Regions from separate parts of the Homo sapiens genome. Here regions 1, 2 and 4 are each linked to region 3. Evidence: promoter capture Hi-C in human tissues and cell types (Jung and others, 2019). All regions are on one chromosome and are shown on one strand. Each heading gives the region's core, a stretch centred on a gene start or on the middle of the fragment in contact. The rest is flanking DNA. Distances are from core to core; before and after follow the strand shown.

The links. The method cuts DNA at HindIII sites, captures the fragments that hold promoters and counts their contacts. A contact is called where the count stands out against the background at its distance.
Region 1: a contact is called between a fragment that was not itself captured here and the fragment with the promoter of MMP17 in region 3, in 1 of the 25 tissues and cell types used here (dorsolateral prefrontal cortex).
Region 2: a fragment that was not itself captured here is called in contact with the fragment with the promoter of MMP17 in region 3 in 1 of the 25 tissues and cell types used here (lymphoblastoid cells).
Region 4: a fragment that was not itself captured here is called in contact with the fragment with the promoter of MMP17 in region 3 in 1 of the 25 tissues and cell types used here (dorsolateral prefrontal cortex).

What each region holds. Positions count from the first base shown.
Region 1 is chr12:130,805,768-130,808,467 of GRCh38, reverse strand. STX2 (syntaxin 2) reads left to right here. Exons shown (of 11, transcript NM_194356.4): 6 at 1,378-1,486. Among named protein-coding and RNA genes, the nearest start is that of STX2, 32 kb to the left of the region's middle. RefSeq lists an enhancer at 1,652-2,574. The HindIII fragment of the contact is 5,694 bases long and covers 1-2,700 here.
Region 2 is chr12:130,776,260-130,778,959 of GRCh38, reverse strand. No RefSeq gene overlaps it. Among named protein-coding and RNA genes, the nearest start is that of RIMBP2, 61 kb to the right of the region's middle. RefSeq lists a silencer at 2,042-2,336. The HindIII fragment of the contact is 9,624 bases long and covers 1-2,700 here.
Region 3 is chr12:131,827,019-131,829,819 of GRCh38, reverse strand. It overlaps MMP17 (matrix metallopeptidase 17), which reads right to left and starts at 1,427. Exons shown (of 10, transcript NM_016155.7): 1 at 1,167-1,427. The coding sequence starts at 1,325. RefSeq lists a silencer at 1,433-1,562. The HindIII fragment of the contact is 32,715 bases long and covers 1-2,801 here.
Region 4 is chr12:130,825,390-130,828,089 of GRCh38, reverse strand. It overlaps STX2 (syntaxin 2), which reads left to right. Exons shown (of 11, transcript NM_194356.4): 2 at 823-897. Among named protein-coding and RNA genes, the nearest start is that of STX2, 13 kb to the left of the region's middle. The HindIII fragment of the contact is 9,657 bases long and covers 1-2,700 here.

The DNA.
Region 1 (2,700 bases), core at 176-2,675, 1.0 Mb after region 3:
AGGTTTATTTTGCCAAAGTTGAGGACACACTTGGAGAAAAGAAATACAAATTAGAGTAGGATCTGTGGTTTGTGCCTTTCCTGAAGAGGGTTTTGAGGACTTCAGTATTTAAAGGGGAAAGAGCGGGCAGGAGAGGAAGGAGGAAAGGGGAAAAAAAAGAGAAAAAGTGGGGGTAGGCAGCGGGGTGGCCACACTGCTGTGAGGCTTTGCTCAGGGCTCACTGCGTTCACATTTCACATGTGGGAAGAGAGGAGTGGGGGTCGATTCTGCACTCCTCCCGTGCCCAGATCCGCCTCTTACGTGGGCCAGTGTGAGCCTGAGGTGAGGGAGGAGCTATACATGCATTTCTCAGGGTGGGCCGAGGGTGACTTCTAGTCTTGTCTTTGTCCTGTACCTGTGAAGGTAAGCGGCTAATGTACATTGTCAGGGTGAGATTCTGCAGAACTCTGTTTTAGAGTTAGTTTTTGGTGGGGGGGATATGGATTCTGAAAGATTCTGGGACCTACGAGGAATTTCCTTGTGAGCACTTTGTGCAGGAGGCTGCTGGGGCGATGTGCGGCCTTCTGTCACTGCAGCCATCTGTTTGAGAAGAGGAGGGAGGGCAGTGTTTTGCATGACTCAGTTCCCAAGCTTAACTGTCCCTTTGGGATAGTGAGTGTGAGGTCCTGCGATTTTATTTTCCTTTCACAGTATTTATAGAAATCTCTTTATTGTGAAGAAAAATCTATTCGGTCCATCAACAGAGTTCTATTCCAAAGAGTAGGGAATTATCCAAATGATTTTAGTGTTTGTGGTAAGGCCGCCACGTTTTAGTGGTTTGTGGTACTGCCCAGAGGAAGACAGAGCCCTGAGGCCTCGAGGGCACGAGGCGATGAAGCACGCGGGCTCTGGGGTCCGCCTGCCTGGGTCCCCTCATGGGCACAAGGCGATGAAGCACGCAGGCTCTGGGGTCCGCCTGCCTGGGTCCCCTCATGGGCACAAGGCGATGAAGCACGCGGGCTCTGGGGTCCGCTTGCCTGGGTCCCCTCATGGGCACAAGGCGATGAAGCACGCGGGCTCTGGGGTCCACCTGCCTGGGTCCCAGTGCTGATCTGTGTTTATCAGAAAAGCCTGTGACCTTGGGCTAATGACCTCAAAGTCATGGTTTTCTTTAAGTAGGGTTGTGACCGGCATAGTAGGGGTCTTGTAAAAATTAGGTAAGATCATGCATGCAAAGTTCTTAGCACAGATGCTGCCATGGGGACTTTGCCATTGTCATTTTCCATTTGCAGGAGCAGAATAACATGTAGTTTGAGTTTCCAAAATGCATGTCTTGCATGTCACTTTCAGTAGAAGGCATGGCCCTCAGATACGAATGTAGTTTTCCTGTGTTGTTAGCATTCGGTGCTGTCTCGGAAGTTTGTGGAAGCCATGGCGGAGTACAATGAGGCACAGACTCTGTTTCGGGAGCGGAGCAAAGGCCGCATCCAGCGCCAGCTGGAGATAAGTGAGTAATGGAGACTCCGTCTTTGTTAAAATCATGTTTTTCTCCCTTAAGGTCTCACTTCAAATGACTTTAACTTCAGAAAAGGAAATCCATGTCTATTTTCACCAATAGTGTAAAACCCAAAGACCACTCGTAGCTTCCTATGCCGTGAGTCAGGCAAACCTGTTCTTCCTGTCTTCAGGAAGTCCTAAGCGGTGGGGTTTACCTTGCTCATTGCTGTTGCTTTTAGAGTTTCAGGGAGATTGGGAGAGTGCTCAGTCATTTCCTCTTTGAGTGTTTCTGTGTCCTCAGTCCCGCCCTGCCCTGGTTCGGGGGCATCTTCATGGCTCCTCACATCTCTCCTTGTCTGTGAGCAGAGGCAGCGGCCCTATTGCCCCAGACTCTTTTCAGGGGTGTCTATGGGGACAGTTGGCTGTGGCAGTGGAGATGGCGCCTTCTTCGGGGACAGACGGGTCTGTTTCAGGGATAAAGGTTGGTCAGGTTTGTAGACTCCCCATTGTGAAAGATTGGGGTTCCCAAGCTCGGGTCCTTCAGCTGTGACACAAACCCACTGTGAGGACGTCCCACTGCAGCTGCTCTGCCTCTCCCCATGAGACTGGGGGCCGTGGACAGCTGCTCATGAGCCTCAGGTTGCCTGCTGTGCTGTGAGTAGGAAATCCCTTTGTCCCTGACCTGGGGCCTTGGACCTTCTGCCGGCCCCCACGGAGCCCTGGCAGGCCAGCGTGTCAGCTCGCAGGTCAGATGAAGCCTCAGGCCCATCCCGGCTCCCAACGCCGCACATCCCCCTCAGAGAATGTTGTCATATGCCCGCCAGGCCGCTTGACCTTGTCCCACAGCTCAGCGAGGCTCCTCATGTTTTAGATACTCTTTTCCAGTGTGTTTGGTTTTGGTCAGTTTCTCTTGCTTGTCTGATCTGCCTTTAACCTCCTCTGGTGTATGTTTCATCGGAGACACTGGTTTCTGTTGCTAGTTCTGCTGGGTGTTTTACATGTCTGCTGTGTTGCTCCCCACTGTACAACTGGGACGCACTTGTAGTAACTTGAACCGTCTTTGTCTGCCAACTCCAGTGTCCTGTCTGCTCTGGTTGGTTGATTTCCTTCCTTTCTGTGGCTTGTGTTTTCCTGCTTCTTTGCGAGCCTGGTAAGTTTCGAGTGTGTGCCAGACATTGTGAACGTTACTTTGTTGGGTGCTGAGTATTTCTGTATTTTGAGTAT
Region 2 (2,700 bases), core at 198-2,697, 1.1 Mb after region 3:
CCGCAAAAAAACAAAAAGGAAGAGCGATTATGAGGTTCCTGAGGCCATCTAGACAGGAGGTGGCGGGGACTTAGAGTGGCAGCTGAAGTTGGGGCAAAAGAGGTTGGACACTTTATCAATATACTTTGAGGTTTGAGTCAAAAGCCCTTTGGCTGGGCTGTTAGAGGGTATGGGGTATCTTTATGGGGTAATGAAAAGATTCTAAAATTAATGGTGACAGTTGCACAATTCTGTGAATATCCTAAGAACAATTGAATCGTATGGTATATGAGTTATGTCTCAACAATGTTAACAGAAATGAGGATTTGCAGATGGATTTGGTGTTGGGGTCTGAGAAGGAGAGGAGGCAAGGAAGACCAGCCTGGGCAGCTGGAAGGATGGTCTTCAAGGAGGAAAGCAGACAGAGGAGGGGCAAGTGTTAGGGGAGGGCTAAGAGTTTCAGGAGTTCAGTTGTGTTTTTTGTTTTGTTTTTTGAGATGAGGTCTTGCTCTATTGCCCAGGCTGGAGTGCAGTGACATGATCACAGCTCACTGCAGCCTCGAACTCATGGGCTCAAGCAATCCTCCTGCCTCAGCCTCCCAAGTAGCTGGGACTACAAGTGCACACCACCACACCTGGCTAATTTTTAAATTTTTTTGTAGAGATGGGGTCTTGCTGTGTTGCCCACGCTGGTCTCTAACTCCTGAGCTCAAACAGTGCTCCTGCCTCAGCCTCCCAAAGTGCTGGGATTACAGGTATGAGCCACTGGGCCTAGCCCAGGAGTTCAGTTAGGTCTCGGCTGTGATCAGATATGCAAGGGGATATGGGGGAAGCATTTGGACACTCAACACTGGCTCTGGGGAGAGGGCCGCAGGATGAATGACAGGAGCACCTGGCTGGTGAGTGACAGGGGGAAGACAAGGGGCAGGAGTGAGCCCTGGACCCCTGATGCTCCCAAGTTAGGAGGGGAGGAGCGGCCAGCCAGGGAGGGGACGTCCCAGAAGCCAGGAGGTTCTGTGTTTCATTTCCTCACCGGAAGCAGAGAGCATGGGCACAGAGAGACCTTTCTTTACTGGGCAGAAGCAGCAGTGCCAGCCCAGGGTACATGACAAGTGCCTCAGCATGTGGGATCAGGGAGTGGGGATGCTGGCAATTGTGGATTGGAGGCTCTGGGTGGCAGGAGGCTGCCTTGGGGCTATAGCTGTTGCCATGTACAAATAAGAGCCAAGGGCTGCTGGGCATCAAACGTTCAAGAGAAACTGGAAATTATGAGATTTTGATTGGCTTTTCAAAATGTCCATTTCATTTTAAAAACAAAAACCTACATGTGCCTAACCACACAAGTCTGTGTCCCCACCTGGCCTGTGGCCCGTCACTGTGTTCTGCTTTCTAACACAGGGAGTTACTGCCAGGGGCATGGAGTCTCTGTCAGGCCTTTTCCTAAGCAGGTGTACCCTGGGAGAGGCATGGGCTGTTCAGGGTGTCGGTGCACCTGCACTGGTGTTGACCCTTAGTGTGATGCCAGGCAGGGGCCCTCAGCCCCCCAGGATCCAGCTGGGTCTGAAGTTGAGGGAGGAGGTGGAATCCTGCATGAAGAAAGCTCTGCTGGCTGAGAGCCTGGCTCCCACGCTGACTGTGTGACTGTGGGCAACTTATTTAATGATCCTAAGCCTGAGTTTCCTCCTCCGTAAAATGGGTTCATAACAGTGCTCACATTTTTGGGCCACAGCGAGTATTTAATAAGACTGTACATAAAAGCCGGGAGTGGAGGCATGTGCCTGGAGTCCTGGCTGCTGGGGAGGCTGAGGTGGATCACTTGAGCCTTGGAGTTCGAGGCTGCAGTGCGCTATGATCATACGTGTGAATAGCCATTGCCCTCCAGCCTGGGCAGGATAGTGAGACCCCATATCTAAAAGGAAAAAAAATATTCTACACGTACAGAGCTTAGGGTGTTACTTGACACATAGACACTCAGTAAATGTGATGAAATGCATTTTGCGTGAATATTTCGGCTCTGGCTATTTACATTAGTCCAGAAGGTGAACCCTGTGCTACTTAAGTTTTTATAGCAGCACTGCGAGCGTAAGCAAAACCAGCCACAGTGCAGCAGAACAGTAACAGGAGAGCCGGCTGGGGCCAGAAACCAGCAGCTGGACAGCGCTCTCATGGAGGCAAAGCCTGTTCTGACCCCAGCTCCAGCCTTTTCTAGCCCTGCGGCCGCATCGTCCCCTGCACTGCTACTTCCTGTTTGAACAATAGGACCTCAGTGCAGCTTGATTCAGCGAGCGTTAAATGAAATAACGGGAGAATGGACTTTGGCTCTGACCCCGGCCATAATGTTTGCTGTTATTACAAAGTGAGGGCCAAGATTACAGCAGATCCGCACACACGGAGGTTAGAGGTGTTTTGGGGTATTGTCAGAGAGAGACTAACAGAACTGTCTTTGGACCCATGGATGGTTTTGTAAGGAAGTAGTGCCTAACGCAAGTTGTAGTAAAGACCCATGGGTAAATGAAAACGCCTGTCCTGGGACCCGGGAGACCGGGAGGGAGCTCCAAGGCTCTTGGCCCAAGGGCGACTTGCTGGGAGGTGCCTCCTTCCAGCTGGGAAGCCAGTGCCCAGAGCAGATGCCTCTGCTCCGCCACAGCGCTTTGAAATGGTGACTCAGGCTTCATGCACGCCCACTGCTGCCCGTCAGAACTCTCGGCTTCAGCAGTTAGC
Region 3 (2,801 bases), core at 178-2,677:
CCAAATCGGCTTCCCATCCAGACCCCCTGGCCAAGTCCTGCCAACCACAGGGGCTGCGGGTGCCACCCAAGTGGCCCCTCCATATGCCTCGACTGCCTGAAATACACCTGCGCTGACTTGCTTGGACCCCAAGGTTTTGGAGCTCCTGAATGTCCACTGCGCTGGGCGAGGGGCCCTGCCAGGACCCCACTGGGAGACTGTCCGCGGACGAGGGCCAGGCCGAGTACTTGTGTGGGGCGGGGAGGCCTCGGCTCCTGGCCCGACTCCCTGGGTAGGAGTCCATTGAAGGCAGCGGTGGGGCAGGAGCCTCAGAAGGAACCAACGAACCCAGCGGGAGTTCACCCGGCCGCCCCAGCGGGGGGGCGCTGACCCCACGACGTGTGCTCTAAATCTTCCGGGTCCACAGGAGACGCGAGTCCCGGCTGCGGAACAGGGGAGGGGGCTGTAGGAAGAGGCCACGTCGCTGCCCCCAGGCAGGGTTTCTAAGCTGAGCTGGGGACAGCTACTGGGTGTGGAGTGAGGAAGGCTCTCCCCGCGCCCCCGGCTCAGCACTGTACCAGGGCAAGGCAGGGCCAGCCTGGCCGACCTGGGGTGGAGGGGAAGGAGGCTGAGGGCCAGGTCCTTGTCCAGTGGGGAGCTGGGGGCCAGCATCCCTGTGCCCCCAACACCCTCAACCGAGCAAACTCGGGGGCTCAAGGCTTTCGGGGTGCCCCCACTCCGTAGCCCCTGCCCTTCCTCGCTTTGTGGGTGCGTGCTCCTGCCCCCGCCACTCCCACCCGGAACGCACGCAGCGCGCAGAGCTCGGGGCGGCCGCGATGCCTGCTCTCGCCCAGCCCGGCTGCTCCGGGGCTGCTGCAAGCCGGCGACCCGGGCTCCGGGTGGGCGACCCCCTCACAACTCCACGGGCTCCTGCGGCTGCGGCGCGCTCCCAGCGCACGGAGCCGGGACGGCAGCCGGCGCCTCCCCAGGACTCGCGTGCGCTCGCCCGGTCGCTCAGCCCGCGTCCCTGCCTCAGTCTCCCCACCCAGGAAATGGGTCCAGGGCGCCAGGGCTCCCGCGCGACGCCGACGTGCACTGCTGGGGTCTTCCCGGTCCCCGCCACCCGGCCCGCGGAGACCCCCGGCTCCGGCCCAGGAGCTCCGCGCCCGTCCCGCCCGCGCGCTCACCACTCCCAGGCTGAGGTCCTCGGCGCGCGGCGCGGGTGCGGGCGCGGCGCAGCCCCCGCGGGTCCCCAGCGCCAGCAGCAGCAGCAGCGGCAGCGGCAGCCGCGAGAGTCCGGGCCCTGGGGGCGGCGGGCCGGGTCCCCGGGCTGCGCGGCGCCGCATGGCGCTCACATGGGCCCGCGGGCGGCGTGCAGGGTCCCGCGCCCTCCGCTTCGCGTTCCGCAGCCCGGCGCCCTCCGCTCTCCGCGGCGCCCCCGCCGGACTGAGCCCCGCGCGGCAGCCTCAAGCGGCGGGGCGGGGCCATGCAAATGTATGCTAACGAGGCCGGCCGCCTTAAAGGGCCCGCGCCGCCTCGGACGCTGCCACCCCCGCCCGCCCCGCCGTGTCCGCGACGGGACTGGGTCCGCGGCATCACAGGGAAGGCGTTTCCCCGGGTGTCTTAGGACGCTCTTGGGGCGGCGGGGACGCGCGGGATGGGCGCGGAGGCGGGGGTCGGGGCGCCTGCGGGGAGCTGACCCTGACTCCCCTCTCCGGCCGCGCTCCCGGGTCCACCCCCCACGGCGCCGAGGCCCGGGTTCAGACCCGGGTTCAGGCCCCGGAGCCGCCGCCGCAGCGCAGCAGGTGGGCGCTTGGTGGAGCCCGCGGACCGCGGGAGAGGGAGGGTGGGGCTTGGGGGGCGCGGGGGACTGGAGGGCGAGGGCGGGTGTTGGGGGGGCTGGGGTCCTCGGCGGAGGCTCTGCGGTCCCTGCGGGCCTGGGAGCGAGAATGTTAACTTGTAATGTTTGTTGGAGCGCAGCGTGTGCCTGGCACATGCCCAGGAGTTACATAAATAATTTCATTTACTTACAACATTTATGAGATGAAAACTATGATTTCCATTTCGCAGACAAAGAAACTGAGGCCCAAAGAAATGAAGTAACTTATGGGAGGTCCTGGAGCGGGCAAGCGGCAGAGCCAGGGTCAGAGCCCGAGCAGGCGCTTGTGTGGATTGAACTCGTGCAAGTTGCGTACAGGCTGCCCACCGAGTGGGAGATCTTGGGAGAGGGCAGGGGGTGAGGTTCAAGGGTAACCCTTGCCTTTATTCAGCTTCTCCTCGTGCTGGACAGCATGGCTTCCCCTCCTTCCCAGGCCCTCCTGCTCCACCACCCCAAATCGCAGCTGGTACTGTCAGGACTGAGGTCTCATTCTACGGACAGGGAAACTGAGGCTCGGCCCCTTTTACCAGAACTGGTCTCAGGGAAGTGGTGCCCCTCCCCTCCTGTGAGGGCCGACTCCCCCCAACCACCCCCCCCCCCCCCCCCCCGCTTCCCTGGGTACTCTGGCCCATCCTGTCCCTGCTGCCCTCAGAGCCTCCCTGGCCCGGTCTGAACAGGGTGATTCCACACCTGCTTCAGATGACCTTGGTTCGGACTGATGGGATCACCTGTAGGAGGTGGGGACTTTCACAGGACATCCCGGATTGTTTTTTCTTTCTTTCTTTTTTTTTTTTTTGCTCTGTTGCCCAGGCTGGAGTGCAGTGGCACGATCTTGGCTCACTGTAATTTCTGCTTCCTAAATTCAAATGATTCTCCTGTCTCAGCCTCCTGAGTAGATGGGATTTCAAGCGTGCACAACCGTGCCCAGCTAATTTTTGTATTT
Region 4 (2,700 bases), core at 112-2,611, 1.0 Mb after region 3:
TACTATCTCTATTTCATGGACAAGAGGCAGAGACTGAGACAAGCTAATGGGCTGCTGGGGAGGAGGCTGGAGCCCAGGTCTTCAGCTCCTGATCAATGGTCGTTCTTCTGGGTGGTGCTGGGGTTTGCTTTGTTTTGTTTTGTTTTTAGAGACAGGGTCACTGCAGCCCCAACCTGCCAGGTTCAGGTAGTCCTCCCACCTCAGCCTCCTAAGTAGCTGGGACCACAGGCATGGGCCACTAGGCCCAGCTAAACCTGCCAGGTTCAGGTAGTCCTCCCACCTCAGCCTCCTAAGTAGCTGGGACCACAGGCATGGGCCACTAGGCCCAGCTAATTTTTTGTAGAGACAGGTTTTCACCATGTTGCCCAGGCCGGTCTTGAATTCCTGGACTTAAGCATTCTGCCCCCCTCAGCCTCCTAAAGTGCTGGGATTACAGGCGTGAGCCACTGCGGCTGGCCAGTGTTTTTACTGTTTATGGAAAATATGCAACACCAGCAGTTTCACTTCTTGAGGGTAAAACTGGCCTGTGTTATATTGACTTACATAGTGAGAACTAAATGATTCTAAGCAGCTTAGTTCTGAGAAAGCCACCCCTTGTTTCTCTCCAGGTCTTCCACCTTCTGGCTGCTTCAGCCAGGATCTGTTGTGTTGAAAATGTTGCGGAGTTCAGTTGGAGTAGATAGTGGTGGCTGCTAGTCTGTTACAATTTGGTGCTGTAGTGAGTTGAGATCTTGTGGGTATTGAACTGTTTTTGTATTTCAGTTCGCTATTTGTGCCTACATAAAAATTTTAAAAAACTGAATTTTCCATTTTTCATTGTAGTGTAGGAAGAATGATGATGGAGACACAGTTGTTGTGGTTGAGAAAGATCATTTCATGGATGATTTCTTCCATCAGGTAAGAGCGTTTAATGAAACCCAATCATAGCCTGCCTACCTGTCCTCCCTCCCTCCCCCCACCCCTCCCTCCTTTCTTCCCTCCCTCTCCCTTTCCTCCCCTCCCCTCCCCACCCCTCCCTCCCTCCCTTCCTTTCTTCCTCCCTTCTTTCTTTTTCTTTTTCCTTTTCTTTTTCTTGTTTTTGGAGACAGAGTCTTGCTCTGTTGCCCAGGCTGGAGTGCAGTGGCACAATCTCGGCTCACTGCAACCTCTGCCTCCCAGGTTCAAGTGATTCTCTTGCGTCAGCCTCCCAAGTAGCTGGGACCACAGGTGTGTGCCACCACACCCAGCTAATTCTTTTTTTTTTGCACTTTTAGTAGAGACGGGGTTTCACCATGTTGCCTAGGCTGGTTTCAAACTCCTGAGCTCAGGCAATCCGCCCGCCTCAGCTTCCCAAAGTGCTAGGATGACAGGTGTGAGCCCTTGTGCCTGGTGGCTTTCTTCTTTAAAGATTTATATCAATATGATTGTGCATTTATCATATTTGAAATAATACTTAAGCTAATATTTTTAAAAGTTGTTGTTTGAATTACGTAAGTTCTCTGGAATTTTTAGTATGATCACAATGTTAATAATGAGAAAAATGCAAATCATCGTTCTAATGCAGTCCGGGAGGGAACTGGGTGTGGATGGTGGAGCTGTGCACGTGGCCTCCGCGTGGGTTGGGGCCGGGCCTGCAGCGCCCTCTGCTGGTGGGCGGCCACTTCTCCCACCCGGTGCTGGCTGCTGCAGGAGCACCGCCTCCTTGCAGGCTGCCTTTTGGAGGTCCTGCGGCGCCCCTTAAGAGAGTTTTACAAAGGCCTTCCTGCAAGACTGGCAGTGTCTCAGAACGAGGCCTCCTTGGTTCTTCAGGAAGTGGTGGTTCCGGCAGCAGAGGTGGCGCCTGGCTGTGGGGGCAGGGGTCAGGTGTGCGTGGCTCCCACCAGCACTGCCATCCGTCCACTGGTGGGTGTGAGTCCTGAGGCAAGTGCCTAGAGCAGAGGGCTCAGGGTCTGAAATCGGTGACAGATCAGCTGTATATGAGCTCAGGTAGAAGACTCAGAGGAAAGTCACAGGTGACCCAGTGGCTGATATTTTAAAATGTGGCGGCCTGGCGGTGCTGGGATCCTATCTGAGGTGTGAGGCCTCCCCCTCCTGCTTATCTCCCCAGCTCAGCTCTTGGGCTTAGGCCCTGCTGAAATTCTCAAACCTAAGAATTATCTGATCTAATGTTGCTTAATTTCAAATTTTTGAAATTGAGTCACAGAACAAATATATTGACCTTGTAAAACATGAAGAAACGAAAACACACGTCCAGTGGGTTTTTTAATGACGGAACCTTCATTGCAGGACTCGTCTTGATTATGCTGAGTCTCATGGGATAGTTTCACTCAGCAGCCTCATCTGGCCTAGCAGTGCCTGGATTTGAACATTTTAATAGGTTTATAAAAGCATATGGAAAGTTACTAGTTTTTCAGATTCAGCCAGAATTTCTTGAATATCTCACGTAAGCCTAGTCACTGGTTTTCTAGTATTTGTTAGTTGCTACTGTTATTTAAAGGAAAAAACCATGAGATTAAATTGTTAGCTACAAGGAACTTCCTTTAAGGTATGAAGGAGTTAAGATGCTGGGATTTCCTGATTTCACTTCTTGGAAATGAGACTTTTTAAATTGTCTTTAGCCTTCCTGCCCCCTTTGTCAAATTACTATTTTTCTGATTTTATTCCTTTTACTTGGTTGCTTAACTCTTCCATGTAAGTTCTTTGTAAAAATGTATTTATTTT